Linked DNA regions of Homo sapiens: regions 1, 2, 3 and 4 are each linked to region 5. The links are contacts of gene promoters, found by promoter capture Hi-C in blood cells and fetal thymus (Javierre and others, 2016). All regions are on one chromosome and are shown on one strand. Each heading gives the region's core, a stretch centred on a gene start or on the middle of the fragment in contact. The rest is flanking DNA. Distances are from core to core; before and after follow the strand shown.

Region 1 (2,829 bases), core at 26-2,525, 530 kb before region 5:
AGTCTGTAATTGGAGCGGATTCAAGGATTTTTTAAACTAACTCATATTCATGGGGAAAAGTTAAAATATACTGAGGAAATACAGGGTCCGAGCAATTGCTGAATTTTATTGATAATAGGGAAGAAAAAATATCTTTTGAGAATAAATGCATTTTGAAAATAATCTGCTATTCTATGCCTTTTACTTGGTGTTTCTTCTAATAAAGAGACTTAGGATACGAGAAGCAAGAAACACAAATTTTACATCATTTTCTTCCTTTCTTTGGAAGAATTTTTTAAGACATAAAAACAGATAAACACTCATTCTTCTCTATTCCCCATTTATATTTTTATCTGACTCTTTATTGCTCCATTGCACAAGTAAATTCTGCGTCACAGAATAAAATACTCTAACTAACCATGGTTTTCCTGCTGATAATTTGGAATTTAGCCTCTGCCTTTTTTTAAGCACAAATGTGGAGTCTTGAGTGCACTCACTGATTTGGAGGGAGAAATTTATTGATAGTAAATAAAAGGGAAACTTAATATCATTATTCAGCTCACAAAATAAAGTATCAGCTTCGTACATAGATATCTAACAAGTGGCTTCTTGGGATTGATTCTTTTATTGTTGAATTACGTATCTTATATGACTTGAATCCAAAATCAGAATTAGGCAATCACCATCAGGTCCAACCCCTTTTAATGGTTCCTAGGTTGCATCATAATGGATACATCAAGAATTAGAGCTTGATGGAGGAGGCCTAAGCTTTATGTTTGGGGCTCGTCTGAAAAAACAAAAATTTCTCTGATGTTTAAATCATAGTGAATGACTTTATGGAGTGGGATGAGATAAAATTTAGTGAACTACTTGTTGACATATATTTATTGCTTTAAAATTGTTAAATAATTTGTGTTTGCCTCTTCCTGTTTGCTTTGTTTGTGGCATTTCTTGAGTTAATTTTATTAAATCACTTGCAACACAAAATTTCTAGGAGAGATCTAATCTTGGGCTCATTATTTTACCATTAGAGATCAATTTATTTTAGGAAATATATTAGAAGGCAAATAACTATTGACTCACTAACAAGAATGGCAAATATAGAAAAAGTAGACAATACCAAGTGTGGGCAAAATTGTGGAGCTCCTGGCACTCTCATATATGGGTGACAGGACTGTAGAAAGTTATTTAGCCATATGTACTGAGGTGAATTAAGTGTAACATTTCACTTTTAGGTGTAGATTTGTGTGCAACAGAAATGTGTGCATTTGTTCACCATAAAACAACCATGAGAATGTGCATAGCTACACTATTTATAATATTCAAAGACAGTAAACAGCCCAAATGTATCATATTCATATAATACTCTGTAACCATGAGAATGAATAAATGCACACCACAACACAAGAGAATTTTGTAAAAGTTCTATTGAGAAAAGAAAGCCAGGCGCAACAGAGTACATGTGCTAGATAGGATTCCACTCATGTGAAGTTCAAAAGCAAGCAGAATCAATCCATGGTAGTGAAGTCAGGATACAGGCTGGAGTTAATGACTGGGAGGGGAACAAAAGGGCTTCGAAGGTGCTGTTAGTATTTTGTATCTTAACATGGGTGCTAATTAATGCTGTGTGTTTAGTTTGCAAAAATTTATTCAACCATGACCTATATTGTATTTCCTTTCAGGGTATATCTCATAACCTCAATGAAAATTTTCATTTTAAAAAAGTGTTTTTTGGGGAAAATATGTATTAAGCAAATTCTGTATTGTGTAGAAGTATGACTGTGAAGGCTATGAAGATTTGATGTATAAATGAGGAAAGCTTTGAAATGGGCATAAAAGGGAAAGGAGAGGCACTGGAAAAAGTATATTCAACGAAACATGCCAGAGCTTTAGATGCAGCCATAGTTATCTCTCTGAGAACCACCTGGTTGTCTGAATGAGGAGAGCTGGCTCATAGGCAGAGGAAAAGCTTTAAAGAGAAATGTGACTTTTATTTCTAGGCTCCTCTCTTTGGGCATCAACAGCTTTCCCCAACAAATACCTGTCCACAATTCTATATTCACAGCAAGATGGAGTCCCCCTCCAGTTTTGTGTACTTCCTATGCTAATATTGGCAGCCAAGAAAAACAAAAGGACAGCACTCTTAAAGTTATTCACAAAAAAGGCATCAGGGTCTCTAAAATTGTCATCCTACCACCTACTTATTATTTCAATGCTATTATTTTTTAAGCCCTGAAATAAATGCCCAATTTTGGGGCTCCTGTTGGAAATCAAACAAATCTTTTTGCGGGCTACTCTCTGGCCCATTCCTTCCCTTCAGGCCTGCTGAGGGTGATGTCATCTGGACACATGGAAACTTACTGTTCCAATAAGACTCTCTGAAGTGCCCTTGGTTCTGCCAGGCCCACTGACTCAGAAGCGCAGGGTGATCAGATGACGATGGCATTCCGCGGCTGGACCACTTCCCCCAGTGCCTGCTTTGATAAAAACACATCCACAGAACACTGTTGGTCAGGAGCCTCCTGCATGACACCGAGTCACTAGTTTCTGTTTGGTTCTATTCCCATCAATATTACATGCACCAATATTATAACAAATATCTTTTTTTTTTCTTCCTTCGCCCACCCACCCTTTCCAAGTAGCCACATACTGGCTGCACTATCTAATCCTCCGAGAACAAAGAGAGTCTGTTTGGGTGCAGACATAGCTTAGGTCCTTTCCACGACACACTTTCATCAGCTGCCCGATAGATGCCGCCTTCTCTCGGATCAACCGCAGCTGTTTAAAGATTTTTGAAAAGACATAATGTGTTTCTTACAAAATTCTCCTTAGATTCAGAAAGATAGTGTT
Region 2 (2,700 bases), core at 112-2,611, 550 kb before region 5:
TGAAGCTAGTGTCTTCACAGTAGCTTTGTTTTTCCTGTGCTGCAAAAGGACTGGCAGCCCTTCTCAAATGACCCTACTGCCAAAATGTGATTTTAGAAACACGTAATTATCATTTGTTTCTGCAGCAGCCTGCCTATAGGTGCTTCATCCGAAAAATTTATGACGATAGGGATGGAGTCCAGAGAGCTTTTAGGGAAATAATTTGTATTCATCCATGGCACCATTTTAAGTGTTTAAAGGCTTTCCATCCTTTGAAACTTTATTTCTACTTAGACCCATCCCATCCGGACCCAGCTTCAGCTGTGCTCCATTGACCTGAACCTGCTCTCTGTCTGTGTCTGGCAGGTACTGACCTAAGTGTGCCTTCACATGTTTAGCTGCTTCATTATTTGATCCACATGCATGGGGATATTGCATTGTATTCATGCTCCACCCTGAGGAACAGAAGCTGCAACAAGGTGCCACTGTCTCAAACACCACCTGCTTGCTGGGGGTCACCTTTAAGATGTGACAGTTTTAGTTTCACCATAAACGGAATAGAAATCAGTAGAAATATCTGTGGAAGCCAGTGTGAACTTTATGGTGCCTTTGAACCTCACAGGGTAAAGTTCTTATGGCACACTGCTCAGTAATATGATCTTCCTGTTGGCCTCAGGGATCTCAGAAAGGGAAATCCTCTATTTTCAGTGGCCCAGCTACACAAACAGTGCAAGGAGGCAAGTTCCATATGCAGAATCCAGACACCCACCAGGCCTGGCTGCCCTGGTTCCTGTTTCTTCCCCGTCACCACCACATTTCTATGCTGTCAGCAGGACTCAAAAGGCAAATTGATTTAGCTCATTACAATTAGGATGAATTAAAAGCAATATTTTTACTTCACTCAAAAAGTCAGCAGGTCACAAAATATATTGCTCTGCATATATAGTAGGTAATGCCTCACATATGATTTATTGGAGAATGAGCTAGTTCATTTCCAGGAATCTTCTAGATAAATGAAGTTCACCACTAATATGTTAGAACTTTTTTTAAAAGTTAACTTTTATTTTCCTAGTAGCCATTTAAAAATATATTAACCCCCCCTCCCTGCCTTCTCCCTTAATCATGGCATTTATTGCTCAGGTTATTCCAAAATTACTGCCGTAACATTAGCAATGAGAAGTTAATAGATTAAGAAATCATAAAAATTCACAATCAAGCTAATTGAAGTTTATTGTTTTGCTAAGGCCTTTGAGATTTTATACCAAACGATAAAAGCTAGATGACATTTATGTCTGCAAAATCCATTATTGAGAAATTGCTGTGTGTGTACATATACCATTCCTTCATCCTCTTATTCATCCCACACTCATTCGAGGCTCTTACAGGAAAATATGCACCTGGCTGAATTCCATCTCCTACATCCACCACACACCTAGGTCATCAATGCATTGTATATTGACCTGCATAATTGCTTCTTTTGTTCTTACTGAGAACTTCCTAACCCCTTCCCATGTCTAACCCAGGCCACAAAAACTTTTCAGGATGGTTAGAATTGTAAGGTAAAATTTTATTTTCTTGTCTTTTCTTTTTTAAGCAAAAGGTATAGAGATTACCTGAATTTGAAAAAAAATTAGAGAAGGGGTGGTGGTGGTGAGTACCAGGAACTCTATATTTATTGATTTCATGATTTATCCATAATCAAGTTTATTGTTATCTACAAAAATTTTGTGTGGTTTTAATTAAAGTGCCCTTGGAGTGACTGGCGTGTGCAGGAGAGTTTCCACTCTACCGTAGGTGATGCATAAGCTACTACTGGACTGGCAGCTCTGAACCAATGGTAGTCCATGGCTGGAGTCCTGTGTTGAGGGTTCTATCAGTGCATCTAGGCTTTTTAAATACAGCAGGGTCTTCTTAGCAATGCCTGCTTTGTGCACAGGATTGGGATTTGCAGTATACATGGCATGGATTTAACATGCTTATCTTACATGCAGCAGCTTCAACCACTAAGACTGTTCAGCTCATCTTCATCTTTGTACCTGTCCATTAACATCAAGTTTCAAGGTTGTCAACGCACCAAGATCTGTTAGGCATCTTACTTAGACTCTTTCCTCCTCCAAATTAATTGCTTCCAAATTTCTGCTGATGGAAAGTAAGATAAATCAACTGATTAAAATTGTATTTATAATAGATTGATTTCTAGACAGAGGAATGAAAATAAGATAAATATGAAACAAAACAGATAATAAATGTTAATTATAAAATCCTGGTGGAGTGTACACAAGTGTTCACTCTGCAATTTTTTCAGCTTTTATGTTAGAAATATTTTATGATAAGATTTTTGGAAGAATTGTGCTTATGGAAATCATTAATAATCAGTGATTGCGTACATAAGAGGATTGCCTAAAAATAAAAGCATGGACTTTCATGGAAATAATTTAAAACACTGTCATTGTTCCTCAGGTTCCATTTTTGTTCATTTCTACATTTCTACATTTTGTTTTCTGTTTAAAATAGTCAAGTAAATGGCATAGAGTGGGTCATTGTTTCACATTTTTAAGATCCTTTGAATAATAGTATGGGGTGTTTTGCTACCTTGTTTGTTTTGTCTTGGCTTTATTCATTTTTAAATTTTGATTATATTGAGAAGGGAGAGACAAAGAATAGCAAGTATTTTTTTCCCTTAAAATACAAATCCAACATAAACCACTCTCCTCTTTGTCA
Region 3 (2,700 bases), core at 97-2,596, 530 kb after region 5:
GTCTCCATTTCAAATTGTGTCCTTTTAATGTGGAAGAGGATTTATGAACTTTATTATCAACATGTAGCTTGTTGAAAATCAAATTTTTGTTTATTTCAGGAAAGCAGAAGTACTCAAATTATTTTATTAGACTTGATGAAAAATGGGCTGGTTGTGCTCAGAGACTTTGATTCTGATTCTAGCTCTCTAACCTTCAGCACTTCTCTGCTATTTCTCTTTTAGGTTATATTTTTAAATGAAAAAATAAGCAAAATCCTCTGCAGTGTTGAAAAAAAGTTGAAGAGCTTGGTCCATGGGTAGATTAATAGATAGGAAGATGATGGACCAACAGATGGATGAGTGGGTGGGTGGGTGAGTGGAGGGGCGGATGGGGGAATAGGTGGATGGTTGGATAGGTGGGTAGATGGGGGGATGGATTGATAGATGGATAGGTGGATGGGAGGGTAGGTGTGTGGATAAGTGGGTGGATGAGTGGAGGGGTGGATGGGGGAATAGGTGGATGGTTGGATAGGTGGGTAGGTGGGTGGATGGAATGATAGATGGATAGGTGGATGGGTGGGTAGATGTGTGGATGAGTGGGTGGATGAGTGGAGGGGCGGATGGGGGAATAGATGGATGGTTGGATAGGTGCGCAGATGGGTGGATGGATTGATAGATGGATAGGTGGATGGGTGGGTAAGTGTGTAGATGAGTGGGTGGATGAGTGGAGGGGTGGATGGGGGAATAGGTGGATGGTTGGATAGGTGGGTAGATGAGTGGATGGATTGATAGATGGATAGGTAGATGGGTGGGTAGGTGTGTGGATGAGTGGGTGGATGAGTGGAGGGGCGGATGGGGGAATAGATGGATGGTTGGATAGGTGGGTAGATGGGTGGACGGATTGATAGATGGATAGGTGGATGGGTGGGTAGATGTCTGGATGAGTGGGTGGATGAGTGGAGGGGCGGATTTACCCCTACCATTCACTCTCACTCTACAGCATGATGTTGTGTTCATAAGGAAAGAGACCAGCAACTCTTAAATGAGAAGTTACAAGTCTTCCATATCAGGTGAATCCCAAATGTTAAAGCGATTTTCCCAAATTATCAACTGATACAAATATGAAATCAGATCACAAACTCTCCTTAAAATAACTTTAAAAGAAAAGAATACACTACAGGTATTGTTAACCAAGTTGTCATTCATGTGAAAATATTTTTTGGCTGAAAGATCATGGTGCATGTAAAAGCATCATTACCTTAGGTTCACTATTTTAGACACTACTATTTTTAATAAAGGTTGATAAACATTCTTACTGTGATGGGAAAATTTGTTCAGTCATATGTACATTTTGGTTAAACCTCTCTTAATCTATCGGCTAAGATTTCCAAGTGCAGAATGACTGAGCTCAGCCTGAGGAGCGGTGAGGGTACTTTCAGTGGAAATGCACAGAAAAACTGTTTTTGAAGGAAGATTTTGAGGACAGAATTCCAACAATAATGTTGAATATAAGAAAGGTCTAAATTTATTTAGCACAAATAGAATTGTACACATTAAAAAATTTGCATTTTTCAAGATAATTTTCAGACTTTGCAAACAACTATATTTTAAAAGTGAGTAACACCAAATCAGACTAATGAAGAGATGTAATTGGGCTACATAGATGGAGATTTCCAATATACAAGAGAGGAAGGGGGAAGGTTGGTGATAGACCACTCTTTTCTATGTCTTTCACTATTTTCCATATTTCTTTCTTTAAATACACTGCACAGGAGTATAGAAAAAAGTGAAAATACAGGTTGACAAACAGGAGTTCATTATTTAGAAGAAACATAAGATTTAAACTCTGGTAGTTCATTACCATCAATGTAGTTTGTATGCCCAGGAGACATAACATGTAGGGATTTGAAGTGATATATTTTGTGAGCTTTTGTAGCTATCTGTAAAAATAGAATTTCAGAGTTTATACACATTTAAACTTGAACGAAACAAGGATTTAACTATTATTATTAAAGATGAGATCTAACTCCCAAGTGGAACTTAGAAACACAAACCGTTGGCAACTCCAGCGTTGTGCAGGTGACTTCCGTGCAGTGGGGATTGCATATGCTGGGCGACGCAAGGGAAACTGCACTGTTCCTGCAGTGTGTGCTGTGCTGTAGATGTGGGAATCTGCACTGTTCCTGCAGTGGGTGCTGCACTGTAGATGTGGGAATCTGCACTGTCCCTCAGTGGGTGCTGTGCTGTAGATGAGGGAATCTGCGCTGTTCCTGCAGTGGGTGCCGTACTGTAGATGTGGGAATCTGCACTGTTCCTGCAGTGGGTGCCGTACTGTAGATGTGGGAATCTGTGCTGTTCCTGCAGTGGGTGCTGTGCTGTAGATGTGGGAATCTGCACTGTCCCTCAGTGGGTGCTGTGCTGTAGATGAGGGAATCTGCGCTGTTCCTGCAGTGGGTGCCGTACTGTAGATGTGGGAATCTGTACTGTTCCTGCAGTGGGTGCCGTACTGTAGATGTGGGAATCTGTGCTGTTCCTGCAGTGGGTGCTGTGCTGTAGATGTGGGAATCTGCACTGTCCCTCAGTGGGTGCTGTGCTGTAGATGAGGGAATCTGCGCTGTTCCTGCAGTGGGTGCCGTACTGTAGATGTGGGAATCTGCACTGTTCCTGCAGTGGGTGCCGTACTGTAGATGTGGGAATCTGTGCTGTTCCTGCAGTGGGTGC
Region 4 (2,700 bases), core at 6-2,505, 620 kb after region 5:
GAGCATGAAGACTCACTGCCCTGATCTGTTTAGTCAGGTTTTGCCATCAAATAGCTTGCTCTAAACGTCCGCAGAACCTTTCAGTTTTCTGAGCCATTCGGGTTTCAGAATGATAAAGAAGCAATTGTGGACCTGTACTTACTTGGGTCTGTATTAAAATAGATTCATTTGGTTTTTGTTTTGTTATTTTGCCTAAACCTTTTGCATTGTTTCTATTTAGCATGGTAACTGAAAATGACACGCTTCATGTATTTGGCCAGCTGTTGGCTTTGTGCTATGCTTGATGTTATAGCAAACGTGAAAGACAAACAGCTTACTGTCTAGAAAGACTGCTGCGGCTGTGACCGGAGGCACATGGTGGACGCCACGCGGAGGGCCAAGGACAAGGGCAGGAGGAGGAGTGGGAGCTGCTGCTGCTGGGGGCAGAGGGAAGAGCTCCTGGAGAGGGTGGTGTGAGAACGTGGCTGCCTTCGGTCAGGGCTCCAGCAAGGGAGCCAGGGCAGTGACTAGGGTGCGCCAGACAAGGTCCAGGCATGGGACTCATGAAAAGACTTGGAGCGTTTGTGAAATCCTGCAAAGGCCAGGCAAAGACACTTGGGTTTATGGTACAGGTTACTGTTAATAAGGGCCTCACCCACAGCGGTAGATTCTCCTCCTTTATTTCTCAAATTTTATAGAAACGTATTTACTTTTGAGACTGGGACTCACCCTGTCGCCCAGGCTGGAGTGTGGTGGTATGATCTTGGCTCACTGCAGCCTCGAACTCCTGGGCTCAAGCGATCCTCTTGCCAAGTAGCTGGGACAAGGTGCCACCACGCCTGGCTAATTGTGTGTGTGTGTGTGTGTGTGTGTGTGTGTGTGTGTGTGTGTGTGTGTGTAGATGGAAACTTTGTTGCCTAGACTGGTCTCAAACTCCTGGGTTCAAGCAATCCTTTTGCTTGTGTATTAGTCTAGTCTCACACTGCTATGAAGAAATACCCAAGACTGGGTAATTTATAAAGTATGAGCTAAAAAGTGAAGAGGTTTAATTGACTCACAGTTCTGCATGGCTGGGGAGGCCTCAGGAAACACAATCGTGGTGGAAGGCATCTCTTCACAGGGCGGCAGGGGAGAGAATGAGGATCAAGTGAAGGGGGAAGCCCCTTATAAAACCGTCAGCTCTCATGAGAACGTGCTCACTGTCACGAGAATAACATGGAGGAAACCGCCCTCTTGATTCAATTACCTCCCACCAGGTCCCTCCCACAACATGTGGGGATTATGGAAACTACAATTCAAGATGAGATTTGGGTGGGGACACAGCCAAACCATATCACCTTGGCCTTCCAAAGTGCTGGGATTATAGGTGTGAGCCACTGTGTCCAGCCATAGAAACTTACGATAAGTCATGATTCTTGTTTGAGAAATAGCTACCATGAAAGCTATTATTATTAAAGCTATATATTATTAGAAAGCAAACATCTCACTGTATCTGCTGACTTCAAAAGCATTGATCATCTGTTACAAAGTACAGTGAGCTTGGAAACAGAAGTAATTTCGCGGCGGTAGATGATGCAGGTCATAGTGGTCTGCTTTATGCATGACTGTTGCGTGGCAGGCTCCCTAGATTGGGCTGAGGAGACCCGAGGTCTGACCTTGGCCAGCGACTTACTGTGTGCGCTTGGCCAGGTGACTCATGGCACCTGGCAGGAGGGGGTGGTGAGTGGTGTGGTGATCACAGGGACGTGGTGTGTGATTGAGGGAGAGGGCCGGCTGGCATGACTGGAAGAGAAGACAGTTTCTTTCATACCGAGGAGTATGGTCACTTACCAGGAGGCTTACCTAAAGTAGGAGATGACCTTCCACGCCGCCCCAGGAGTGGGGAGTCTTTCGTCTGTCTTGTGGGCATTTCTATCCTCCCGGCCCCTCCAGCTGTTCTGGAAGCCACAGCTTTGTGCTTCTAGCTACCACCGAGAACCCATCCTAAACTAAGAGAAGCAAAGGCTGATCCTAGAGCCTCTCCCTGCTGTCGCAGGCTAGCCCACTCTAGCATTTCCCCTCCTTGCAGGCCCGTTCTGCGCACTACAGGAGATGATATGCACAGAAACAGACACACAGCCAACGTTGGAAGGGGTGCTGTGTTACTGAGGCGCAGCACACAAAAGCAGGAGACACTCAGCAGACATTGGAAGGGGCGCTGTGTTACTGAGGCACAGCACACAAAAGCAGGAGACACTCAGCAGACATTGGAAAGGGCGCTCTGTTACTTAGGTGCAGCATGGTACCATGGGAAGGGCAGACACCAGGGTGAATCCTGGCTCTGTGATTTAGGCAGCTTATTTCATCACCCTGAGCCTCGGTTTTTTCGTCTGTAAATGAGTATGAGAATACCTCCCTCACAGGATTATATGTGACATGATTAGAAAATGCCTAGCCAAAAAAAGAATAAAAAATTTAAAAAATAAAAAAATCTAAAATACCTAGCCAGTAGTAAGCGCGTGCGCTCTCGCGCTCGCTCGCTCGCTCGCTCTCTCTCTCTTTCTATACACACACACACATATTCTCATCTGCCTTTTTTAGGTCTGTCTTTCCTTGTTTGTAGGATAAGGGACCTGGACAAGATGGTTCTCTTCTCTCCAGCTCTGAAATACTGCCTTCCCGGCATCATCTAATTTCAGGCAGAAAAGCCAGTTTTCTCAGTGTGTCGAACATAACCATTTC
Region 5 (2,700 bases), core at 38-2,537:
TCTTACAGCCACATGCTTCTGCCGGACCCTCTAAAACTTAACATACAAAACCCTCTAATTTTTTTTTACATAGTCCATTCTTTCAAAATGTTTAATGTTCATTAAACTATTTTGAAACAAAAACTATAATACAGTTACAATTCAGTTTTCCATTTTGGATTTTAAAATGCTCTGGTTCGAGTCTCGACATTTTTCTTAAAAATGAACATTACGGTATATTTTAGGAGATAATTTATATGGAAAAAAACACACACACTAAATGTCGGCTTGCACCTAAATTGTTTACACGTTCATGGGAAAACCTAGCTGTTAACCTTGGTGAGGGCTAAGATCGCCCTCTACAAGATAAACACGTTTCTCCCAATTCCAAGGGGAGCCTGCGTGCTCCCCTCCCCCACTCTGGTGGCCCGGAGGACAGAGGGGACCCTAGGACTGGAGGGGGACGGAGACGGGCTCAGGGATGGAGGGGGACAGAGAGGGACCCGGAGGTGGAGGAGGACAGAGAGGGGTACCCCAAGGTTAGAGAACAGAGGATGACTAGGGGGATGTAGGGAAACAGAGCGGCGCAGAAGAGGACAGTTGGGGACGGGGCGGCCCCGGGCATAGAAGGGGACAGTTGGCGACCGGGAAGCCCCCGGCGTAGAAGGGGACAGTTGGGGACGGGGCGGCCTCGGGCATAGAAGGGGACGGGGGGGAACCGGGCGGCCCCGGGACCGGACGGCCGCCCGCAGGGTGAGCTGCCGGAACCGGGGCTCGCGCGGCGACAGGGCCCGGCTTGGTGACCGGGACGGGCGTGGGGTGGCGGGACCGGGCAGCGGGGAAGAGAGACCGGGACTGGGGACAGGCGACGCGGCCCGCCCCGGCTCTCCCAGCCCCGGCTCCCTTAGCTCCGGCCGCGGGCGCAGTGCAGGGCTCGGCCGCGCACCTCACAGCGCGGACTCCTCCGGCGCGCGGCCGCCCGCGCCTTATATACCCTGCTAAAAATAGCCTGCGAGGCCACTTTCCAATCAGAACGAGCAGAGTTCGAATTGAGCCAATGGTGCGGGCCGTGATGGAGAGTCTCGGTCACGCCAGGCGGGGCCGCTGTGTGTCGCCGCCTGCGATTGGCCGGAGCTGACATCATCGGCGCGCAGCCCCCGGGCCGGGAGCCACGGGATTGGGCCGCGCACGGGGCGGGCGCGGGGCGAGTCACGTGGGGGGAGGGGGAGTGGGGGGAGCCAGGCGGGGGCGGAGGGGGAGGCTGGCAGCGGAGCTTTGAATAGGGAAGTTTTGCAGGGGTTACGTTTGCAGTCAGTCCGGTGTTTGCAAATATTGTGTGGGCTCCGCGCGCTGCGGGCTGCGGGAGGGTCCGGCCGGGCGTCTCTGCGAGCCTGGAGTTTGCATGAAACTTTCACCTGCGCTCCGGGGAGACTTTCGGCTCCGGCTCCCACCGCGCGCCTCGCCGCCCTCGCGACCGCGGGCTCCGTCCAACCCGGCCCGACATGGACGTGCTCCCCATGTGCAGCATCTTCCAGGAGCTCCAGATCGTGCACGAGACCGGCTACTTCTCGGCGCTGCCGTCTCTGGAGGAGTACTGGCAACAGGTAAACGCAGCCGGCCGCGGTTCCCTGCGGGCGCCGGGGCGCGGGCCGGGTCGGCTGTTTGGGGTTCAGACCCGGTGCTCTCTGCGGTCCGCTGGGCCTGGGCCCCGCGCTGTCACCGGGGGAGCGGGCGCAGCGCCCCCGCCGATCGATCCTCCAGGCTGCGATCAGCGTCCGCCCAGGGAAGCCCCAACTCCCGGCACAGCCCGGCCGAGCCCCTGGCACGAGTTCGGAGCCTGTCCCCGCTCCAGACGCCACAGCTGGAGCTTGTCATGGGGACCAACTTGCTCTGCCTGCCAAGGTGTTTTTTTTTTGTTTGTTTGTTTTTTGTTGTTTTTTTTTAACGGATTTTGTTTTTGTTTTGTTTCTTGGTGCTTGTACTTAACAGTTTTTTAAAAAAATCACATTTTGCCCCCAGAACGTAGACCAGCTCTCTTTTATTTTTGTCTTTTTTAAACTGTAGACCATTTCCAATGTGTTTTCTGCTCTTTGGAATGCCTAACATTTCCCCTAGATCTGCCTTATTTGTCTTCCCTGCTTCTCTTGTTGACCAAGAAAAATAAAAATAAAACTGTGTACACCCCAGTGACTTGTCAGTCTTGTGACAATGAGCCCGTCCAAACTGCTTCAAGTCTTAGTTTGGAAAGAAGGACCTCGGTTTCCGACATTGTCGTAGAACTGGAATTTGGGGGCATTGGAAATTTAAGAAACTTACCAGGTCCCCGTGCTTATAGGTAGCATCGCCCGAGGGGAGAGAGACTGACACTCCTCCCATTGTCTCTCCAGCGATCGCAGGAGGGTTTACTGTTGTCTCCCTGCCCTGCTGTGCTGTTTGTTTTTCGTCACAAAGTGAATTGCCAGATCAAATAGAGGCTGTGGGTTTCCAAGCCTCGAAAGCTTTAAGGAAGATGAAATGCAGGGTGTTGCAACCTTCACACGCCTGCTTAATTGTTCACAGTCCTCTCCTGCCTTTTCCCCCTCCCCCTCCTGTTTTTTTCCTCCTCAAAGAAGCTGCTCCCTAGGACGTGATTGAAATTGATCTAAGTAGTTTCCTTCGGGCGTTTGGGATTTGGGCAAACGGCCAGACCTGGCTCTTGGTCGCCTTTGGAGGCTTTTAAAC

What was found. Contacts are between HindIII fragments. The CHiCAGO score rates a contact against its expected background, and 5 or more counts as called.
Region 1: a fragment that was not itself captured here is called in contact with the fragment with the promoter of KLF6 in region 5 in 1 of 17 cell types (total B cells); the score reaches 5.9 in total B cells.
Region 2: a fragment that was not itself captured here is called in contact with the fragment with the promoter of KLF6 in region 5 in 2 of 17 cell types (total B cells and naive B cells); the score reaches 6.8 in total B cells.
Region 3: a fragment that was not itself captured here is called in contact with the fragment with the promoter of KLF6 in region 5 in 1 of 17 cell types (neutrophils); the score reaches 5.6 in neutrophils.
Region 4: a contact is called between a fragment that was not itself captured here and the fragment with the promoter of KLF6 in region 5, in 1 of 17 cell types (neutrophils). The highest score is 5.8, in neutrophils.

What each region holds. Positions count from the first base shown.
Region 1 is chr10:4,316,221-4,319,049 of GRCh38, reverse strand. No RefSeq gene overlaps it. Among named protein-coding and RNA genes, the nearest start is that of LINC00703, 67 kb to the left of the region's middle. The HindIII fragment of the contact is 1,051 bases long and covers 750-1,800 here.
Region 2 is chr10:4,335,782-4,338,481 of GRCh38, reverse strand. It overlaps LOC105376370 (a long non-coding RNA gene), which reads right to left. Exons shown (of 3, transcript XR_930589.3): 3 at 1,667-2,118. Among named protein-coding and RNA genes, the nearest start is that of LINC00703, 47 kb to the left of the region's middle. The HindIII fragment of the contact is 5,347 bases long and covers 1-2,700 here.
Region 3 is chr10:3,252,136-3,254,835 of GRCh38, reverse strand. All of the region lies in intron 2 of LINC02668 (long intergenic non-protein coding RNA 2668), which reads left to right. It overlaps LOC105376353 (mucin-5AC-like), which reads right to left. Exons shown (of 3, transcript NR_164119.1): 3 at 1,482-2,700. Among named protein-coding and RNA genes, the nearest start is that of LINC02668, 4.0 kb to the left of the region's middle. The HindIII fragment of the contact is 4,547 bases long and covers 1-2,700 here.
Region 4 is chr10:3,167,094-3,169,793 of GRCh38, reverse strand. All of the region lies in intron 2 of PITRM1 (pitrilysin metallopeptidase 1), which reads left to right. Among named protein-coding and RNA genes, the nearest start is that of PITRM1, 4.3 kb to the left of the region's middle. RefSeq lists an enhancer at 347-396. The HindIII fragment of the contact is 3,737 bases long and covers 1-2,700 here.
Region 5 is chr10:3,783,796-3,786,495 of GRCh38, reverse strand. It overlaps KLF6 (KLF transcription factor 6), which reads left to right and starts at 1,287. Exons shown (of 4, transcript NM_001300.6): 1 at 1,287-1,583. The coding sequence starts at 1,482. RefSeq lists silencers at 378-437, 618-897, 1,148-1,747, a promoter at 549-1,486 and enhancers at 1,353-1,908, 1,909-2,465, 2,466-2,700. The HindIII fragment of the contact is 8,520 bases long and covers 1-2,479 here.